3 separate regions of the Homo sapiens genome follow, and all the other regions are linked to region 1. Evidence: promoter capture Hi-C in 16 types of primary human blood cells and fetal thymus (Javierre and others, 2016). All regions are on one chromosome and are shown on one strand. The core of a region is centred on a gene start or on the middle of the fragment in contact, and the rest is flanking DNA. Distances in the headings are between cores, read along the strand shown. Region 1 holds the start of ZNF30 (zinc finger protein 30). Region 2 overlaps SCGB2B2 (secretoglobin family 2B member 2). Region 3 overlaps SCGB2B2 (secretoglobin family 2B member 2).

Region 1 (2,700 bases), core at 115-2,614:
ATCTATCTATCTATATATATATATATATATATATATATATATATATTTTTTTTTTTTTAGAGAAGGGATCTCGCTCTGTCGCCCAGGCTGGATTGCGGTGGTGCCATCTCCACTCACTGCAACCTCCGCCGCCTCCCAGCTTCAAGCACTTCTCCCACCTCCGCCTCTCAAGTAGCTGTGACTACAAGCGCACGCCACCATGCCTGGCTAATTTTTATATTTTTAGTAGAGACGGGGTTTCACCATGTTGCCATGTTGGTGGTCTCGAACTCCTGAGCTCAGGCAATCCACCCGCCTCAGCTTCCCAAAGTGCTGGGATTACAGGCATGAGCCATGGCACCCGACCTGTTTCCACTTTTTACTTAAAACGTAAGTTTCTCTGGCATGCTTTCTTTTAATTCTAACTAAAAAATTAAGAGCAACTCTTCTTTAAAAACAAACAAATAAAAAACCAACAGAAAAGATTCTCTGACATTTCAATTTCCTCTGTCCCCTAGCAGCTAGAGAGAGAGAGCTACTGCTGTGGGATAATGCAAAATTGAAGAACCTTAAGAAAAAGCTGGGTCCTATTTCTGTGCAATATGGAGATTGATGGAAATGTTTACAGCTGTCATCTTGCTCTCCTTTCTTACATAATTTTGTCATTAGTTAAGTAATCTGCACAACAGATCCTTTGAAGTCCTTTTCCCTGCACTGATAATTTTCAGATGACATTGCTCTCATCTTTAAAAGGTGTAAATACTTTATACAGTTTTTTCCAAACAAGAAGAGGCTTCCTGGCAATCCCATTTCTTCCCGCTGCATGCAAAAGGTATCATAACTATCGTTTCCTTTTTAAACTGAGAGTTGAAGAGTCTTTTGCTCCTTTACATAAATCAATTACAGTGATTTTATCCAAAATAGTAACAAATATTAATAGCTCAGGTTCGCATGGAGGCCATGCACCCAGTCTTCGCGGATGCACACCGGCCCCGGCCGACGCACCCTCCCTGCCCTGCCGCTCCCGCACTCGCCGGCCCGGGATCCTCGCCCGGTCCACCCAACGCTCACGCATGTCTCAGTCCGGGTTCCGCGCCGACACAGGTCTGCAGAGCTCCCGGTGCTGTGTTCGTTTGCAGAAATTCAAGTTGCCCGGCGGGGCTGCTCCAACCTCGGAGCTGGGCGCTGACTTCTCCCTCGATGAACTCCAAAGCTCGCTGCCGGGTCAACGACCACAATGAACTGGCGAGGAGGCAGAGATTGAGGTCGTTCCAGTGGCCGCTGAGAAATGTAGTTTCAGGCTACATTGGCCGGATAGCTGCAGCCTCTGGGAAATGCAGTCCTGAGCCGTCACACCGCCGAGCATGCCCGGCGCAGTCCACAAGGCCGCCCACCGGCGCCCGGAGACTTCTGGGCGCTCCCGTCCGGCTGAGAATGCGCAGGCGCAGGCGCTCGAGTTGCTGGGAGCCATAGACCTCGAAGCTGGGGCGTCTGACACCTGAGGCCCGAAGTAGGTGGCCAGCTTCTTAGAGGGCCAACCCAGGGCATTAACACACCAGGTCAGAAAAAGCAAAAACAAAAACAAACAAAAAATGATAATCTATACCAAAATATGTTATTACTTTAACACAAAAATATGAAAACTAGGTGTTTGAAATTATCTTTCCGTACTGTTTGCTTTTCGCTACAGAAATGCTATTATTTAACAGAATATTAATAGGATTAATAGTGGCAATTAGACTAATCACGTGTGAGAAAAATATATTTCTGTCCTCTGATACAGGAATTTTAAGTTTCTATTAAATATTTAAATTTTGTGGGTTCTATCTAAGATGCTAAATGTAAGACCTTTTAAAAGGAGAATGTAAATAAGGCTAATCAAACAGATATTAACTATATGTAATAGGCATTTATCTTTCTGTCCCATCATACGTTTAGGAGATATTTACTCTTTCTGGTTCCTTTTCCAGTAACACCTCTCTGTATTAGCTGCCTGTAGCCTTTATGGCATTCTTCTTTTGGTTTATGTAATGCTAAAACTGAATACAGGCAAACGTGAAATTCACCTTGACTGTCAGCTCCGCTTTTTGTTTGTTTTGTTTTTGTTTTGTTTTGAGACAGGGTCTCCCTCTGTCGCTCAGACTGGAATGCAGTGGCGCTATCTCGGCTTACTGTAACCTCTGCCTCCCAGGTTCAAGTGATTCTCCCACCTCGGCCTCCAGAGTAGCTGAGACTACAGGGGCGCGCCACTACACCTGGCTAATTTTTGTATATTTTTTGTAGAAATGGGGTTTTGCCATCTTGCCCAGGCTAGTCTCGAACTCCTGGGCTCAAGCGATCCACCCGCCTCAGCCTCCCAAAGTGCTGGGATGACAGGGTGAGCCACCGCGGCCAGCCGAGCTCTGTTCTTATTAAGCCCACATTACAGTGATTCCTGGAGTCAGTCCAGGGTGATGACATTGATAAGGAGGTGGGGAAGGGGAGTGCTGGGGAGGGAAGGGCGGGGTCCCTTTAAATGATATGGAAGGGGGAAAGGGAGGTGCTGGGTACAGGAGGGTGTGGTCCCTGGCTAGGGCTCCACCCCTGGCCCTGTGCCAACTGACCTAGGTGAGGGCAGGCATTTTTGTTTTCCTGCCCAAATGTTGCGTTTCCCAAGACCACCCTGGCCTGCCACGCCCCCATCCTGTTCCCGCCCCCATCCTGTCCCTATAAATACTCTGA
Region 2 (2,700 bases), core at 70-2,569, 270 kb after region 1:
GTTTGTTTGTTTGTTTGTTTTTTTGGAGACAGGGTCTCTCTCAGCCGCCCAGGCTAAAGTACAGTGGCATGATCTCGGTTCACTGCAGCCTCAACCTCCTGAGCTCAAGCGATCCTCCTGTTTCAGCCTCCTGAGTAGCTGGAACTACAGGCACATACCACTGTGCCTGGCTAATTTTTGTATTTTCAGTAGAGACGGATTTCACCATGTTGCCCAGGCTGGTCTTGAACTCCTGTGCCTTGGCCTCCCAATGTGCTAAAGGAGTTCTTTATATTTTCTTGATAAGAGCCCTTGTTTGGTTATTTGTGGGAAATGTGTTCCCCAACACTGTGGATCAGCTTTGTATTTTCCTTATGGTTTTTAATGAGCAGAAGTTTAAAGTTTAATATAATTAAATTTATCAATGTTATACTTTATGCTTCATGTTGTGTGTGTGTGTGTGTGTGTGTGTTGTTTAAAAAACATTTTTATCTCTTTATTGTTATTTTTAATATGGTTTTATTCCTTTGGAAAAAAGATTCTCATGTCATGGTCATAAAGATATTCTTCTACATAAAGATTTGTAAAGTCTTTATTGTTTTGGATTGCCCATTGAGGTCTCTAAAGTACATGGAATGGACTTTTACGTGAAGTGTGGGTAAGAACTCCCTTTCTTTTTAATTATATAGATTCCCTGCTGTCCCAGTTTAGGACAGGGTTGTGTAATCTTTTGGCTTCCACGGGCCACACTGAAAGAAGAAGAATTGTTTTGGGTCACACATAAAATACACTAACATGGCCCGGCGCGGTGGCTCACACCTGTAATCCCAGCACTTTGGGAGGCCAAGGCAGGTGGATTACGAGATCAAGAGATTAAGACCATTCTGGCCAACATGGTGAAAGCTCCTCTCCACTAAAAATACAAAAAAATTAGCTTGGAGTGGTGGCACACACATGTAGTCCTAGCTACTTGGGAGGCTGAGGCAGGAGAATTGCTTGAACCTGGGAGGCAGAGGTTACGATGAGCCGAGATCAGGCCACTGCACTCCAGCCTGGTGACAGAGCAAGACTCCATCTCAAAAAAATTAAATTAAATTAAAAAAAAATACACTAACACTAACAATAGCTAATGAGCTAAAAAAAAAAATCACAGAAAAACTCATAATGTTTTTAAAAAGTTTACAAATTTGTGTTGGGCCACATTCAAAGCTGTCCTGGGCTGCATGGGGCCTGCAGGCCGCAGGTTGGACAAGCTTGGTTTAAGAGAAGATGGCCCTTATTCCATTATTCTCAGTGTCCCTTTTGTCAACAACCAAGTGCCCCATAGAGGGACATAGTTTGCTTCTGGGTTCCCTATTTCATGTCGCTGGTCTCTTTGTCTGTCTCTATGCCAGTGTGGCACTGCGTTGAGTACACACTAAAGCTTTACTTAGTTCTTGACTCTGGCAGAGGGAGTCCTTCTACTTTGGCCTTGTTCCTAGAATGTCTTTGCTGGTTTTGGCCCTCTACAGTGCCAGATGTTTAGAAACAGCTTTTTGAATTCAATTTGGAGAGAACTGAAATTTTGATAATATTGAATATTCCTCTCCATAACACTGGTACATGTTGCCATTTATTTTGGTCTCCCTTATTTTATCACAATAATTTTTTACATATGTATTTCTTTTTTTTAATGTCATTGCACGTTTATTTATTTATTTTTTTATTATACTTTGAGTTCTAGGGTACATGTGCATAACATGCAGGTTTGTTACATAGGTATACATGTGCCATGTTGGTTTACTGCACCCATCAACTCATCGCCTACATTAAGTATTTCTCCTAATGGTATCCCTACCCCAGCCCCCCACCCCCGACAGGCCCCGACATGTGATATTCCCTGCCCTGTGTCCATGTGTTCTCATTGTTCAACTCCCACCTATGAGTGAGAATATGTGGTGTTTGGCTTTCTGTCCTTGTGATAATTTGCTGAGAATGATGGTTTCCAGCTTCATCCATGTCCCTGCAAAGGACATGCACTCATCCATTCTTATGGCTGCATAGTATTCCATGGTGTATATGTGCCACATTTTCTTAATCCATTCTATCATTGATGGACATTTGGGTTGGTTCCAAGTCTTTGCTATTGTGAATAGTGCTGCAATAAACATATGTGTACATGTGTCTTTATAGTAGAGTGATTTATAATTCTTTGGGTATATACCCAGTAAAGGGATCGCTGGGTCAAATGGTATTTCTAGTTCTAGATCCTTGAGGAATCGCCACACTGTCTTCCACAATGGTTGAACTAATTTACTCTTCAACCAACAATGTAAAAGCATTCCTATTTCTCCACATCCTCTCCAACATCTGTTGTTTCCTGATTTTTAATGATCGCCATTCTAACTGGTATCTCACTGTGGTTTTGATTTGCATTTCTCTGATGACCAGTGATGATGAGCATTTTTTCATATATCTGTTGGCTGCATAAATGTCTTCTTTTGAGAAGTGTCTGGTCATATCCTTTGCCCACTTTTTGATGGGGTTGTTTGCTTTTTTCTTGTAAATTTGTTTAAGTTCTTTGTAGATTCTGGATATTAGCCCTTTGTCAGATGGGTAGATTACGAAAATTTTCTCCAATTCTGTAGGTTGCTTGTTCACTCTGATGATAGTTTCTTTTGCTGTGCAGAAGCTCTTTAGTTCAATTAGATCCCATTTGTCTATTTTGGCTTTTGTTGCCAT
Region 3 (2,700 bases), core at 1-2,500, 290 kb after region 1:
ATCTTTCCTAGATCTAGACTAGGAAAGATCTAGCAGGGTCCCTTCAAAATATGTCAAAGAAATATATTTTTGGGGTAAAATGATTTCTCTTAACTGGTCCTTGTTTCTAGTGCTGGAACTTGACTTTCTGCAGCTGCAGGAGTTTTAGTCGACATAAGAGGGGCCAAGAGTTGGTCAAACCTAACAGAAGATCAACCAAAACTAGAAATAGAAAAGGTGATCACCCAATTTACATACTGTCAAGATCTTTGAGCATAAAGAGAAGTTATAGCCATCTGGCAAACGACCTTGACCTTCCGCTACCAAATTCCAAAACGAAACTCCAAACCAGCTCCACGAGGACTCAAGATATGGAGACAGCCTCAGGCCAAATTTAGTTCAATTTGCCAATTCCCCACTTTGGGTCAGCCATTGGATTTTGACATAGTGACCAAAACCCTGGGCATTGACACTGTCTGTCACCATTGTATTAGACTTACTTGGCCTCAGCACGGAATTCACAAGTCATGATGTCAGATCAGTTAAATAATTGTATTCTTGCTGATCTAGCCAAAGGGAGACCATTCAGTGCACAATGGATGTCTGCATACACACATTTAAGATTTGACAGGATACAGTGCACCAGGGGGACTATTACGATGACTACCAGAAAATAATACCAAGAGACCAAAGTGTACTCCTTCACAGGAGGCCCTATGAACAAAACCAGTCAAAACCAAACAAGTCAAAGTCCAGGCATATAAGCAGCTCAATAGTATTTGAGTCCAATTGGTCATAATCTTTGTTTGGGGTGTGATGGTGATTAAGTATTCACCATCACACCCCGAATATATTCAATAATAAGTCAGGTTGCTGGGCTAGGGCATTAATAGTACCTATAAAGAAGGAAAAATTGAGAAGGGGAGACCTCAAATTAGTTTCCTTAGGAGATATAACCAAGTGGTGATAACTTCACTTTCCCAACCTTTTTAAAGTTGTATGAGCTCTAAGTCCCTGCATTTATAATTTCACATCTGGAAAAAAATAATAATAAAGAGGTATCAGTTTATGTCATTAGCCTGGTACTGTAAGTCATAGTAACCTGGAGACCCACCAGAAAAAAACATAAAGATTCAAAAACCCTGGAAAAGCTAAGCTTGCCATTCATGAAAAGTTTTGGACATCGATAGTGGTGATGGTGGCACAACATCGTGAATGTACTTAATGCCACTGAACTATACACTTAACATAGTTAAAATGATTAACTTCATGCTATGTATATTTTACCAGAGTTAAAAAAAATTTTTTTTCTTCATCTATTGAAATTTTCTTCATGTATTTGATAAAAGTATCTAAAGAAATAGCCACCTTTTAAATTAAGCTTTCCATAGTAGCAAAATCAGGGGAAGTGTAGATACAGCACTCAGTTTGATTCAGCACAAGTCCCCAACATGATCAAAATGATGTAAAGCTGCATGAGGCTGGGTGCAGGGGCTCACACCTGTAATCCCAGTACTTTGGGAGGCCAAGATGAGAGGATCACTTGAGCCCAGGAGTTTGAGACCAGCCTGGGCAACATAGGGAGACCCTGTCTCTATTTAAAAAAAAAAAGAGAAATTAAAAATTAGCCAGGTCTGGTGCACACCTGTGATCCCAGATACTCAGGAGGCTGAGGTGGGGGGATCCCTTGAGTCCAGGAGGTCGAGGCTGCAGTGAGCCCCACTGTATTCCCACCTGGGTGACACAGCAAGACCTTATCTCAAATAAATTAAGCTGCATGATATTCTATTAAGTGTTTTGTTAGATGCATAGGTTATCATCTACCTTTTGGAGGGTGGCTTCTACTGAACCACTGGAAGGTTTGGTTGGCCATAAAGTCCAAGATTTTCCCCAATTTATGGATCTGTTCTGAATTCCACACTACCAGCACCCTACTACCACCAAGAGCAAGCCCTCAGGAACCCCACTGGAACCTTTCCTCAGTAGAAACTAGCTTATCTTAGTCTCTTTCAAGGCCGATGATCATTTTGTTTACTGTTTTGGCCTCTGATTATGGAAGGTATTATGGGAACTGTCAGAGGAAGCTATTCAAAAGGCAGGAGTGAGACCCATCAAAGAGCAAGATCTAAACCAGTGAAGAGGAAGAAAGGGTAAGCAAATTCTCTGCGGACCCAAGATAGGTCCTCAAGCATTGGAAAAGAGCGCCTCCTGGTGGTGTTTGAGCAGAAGTAAGTTAAATTTGACCTGTAAGCCTGATGGCTCCTGAACAAAGTTCAGTGGGAAAATTCTTTGTGGTCCCTTTACAGCATGCTGTTAAGGTGTATAACCACATGAAGAAGGACCCTACTGGATTTGTTCTGGTGACATTATATAGCAATTACTTATGATACTATGCACGAATAGCCTGCATACATAGTCCCCAGATCTTGAGTATGTGATGCCTGGAAGCATAATACATCTTTTGCAGGCATCACTCGAATGTGTTTTCTATATTTGGTAGTGATTAGGTTACTAATTGGAAAGGTTAGGATATTGTTTCCAGCAAGTGTAGGAAAACAAGTGGTAGTGATGTCTAGAATATCAAGATAGCTTTCTGTTCTTCCTTTGGAGCGTCAGGGTGAATTGGGAACACAGGGAGGCATTGGCATTTGTGAAATTGCTTCTTGAGTTTTTGGCATTAACCCACAAGCCCAAGGATTACTCAAGTTTTTTGCTACAGAA

Evidence for each region. Contacts are between HindIII fragments. The CHiCAGO score rates a contact against its expected background, and 5 or more counts as called.
Region 2: a contact is called between a fragment that was not itself captured here and the fragment with the promoter of ZNF30 in region 1, in 5 of 17 cell types (erythroblasts, M1 macrophages, megakaryocytes and 2 more). The highest score is 7.4, in erythroblasts.
Region 3: a fragment that was not itself captured here is called in contact with the fragment with the promoter of ZNF30 in region 1 in 5 of 17 cell types (erythroblasts, megakaryocytes, naive CD4 T cells and 2 more); the score reaches 8.9 in erythroblasts.

The regions. Positions count from the first base shown.
Region 1 is chr19:34,925,567-34,928,266 of GRCh38, reverse strand. ZNF30 (zinc finger protein 30) reads right to left here and starts at 1,364. Exons shown (of 5, transcript NM_194325.3): 1 at 1,051-1,364. It overlaps ZNF30-AS1 (ZNF30 antisense RNA 1), which reads left to right and starts at 1,441. Exons shown (of 3, transcript NR_110749.1): 1 at 1,441-1,538. The HindIII fragment of the contact is 20,354 bases long and covers 1-2,700 here.
Region 2 is chr19:34,660,256-34,662,955 of GRCh38, reverse strand. The region is part of intron 1 of SCGB2B2 (secretoglobin family 2B member 2); the gene reads left to right. It also overlaps the pseudogene ZNF807P and the pseudogene SCGB1B2P. Among named protein-coding and RNA genes, the nearest start is that of SCGB2B2, 16 kb to the left of the region's middle. The HindIII fragment of the contact is 170 bases long and covers 1,235-1,404 here.
Region 3 is chr19:34,639,169-34,641,868 of GRCh38, reverse strand. All of the region lies in intron 1 of SCGB2B2 (secretoglobin family 2B member 2), which reads left to right. It also overlaps the pseudogene ZNF807P and the pseudogene SCGB1B2P. Among named protein-coding and RNA genes, the nearest start is that of SCGB2B2, 37 kb to the left of the region's middle. The HindIII fragment of the contact is 225 bases long and covers 1,138-1,362 here.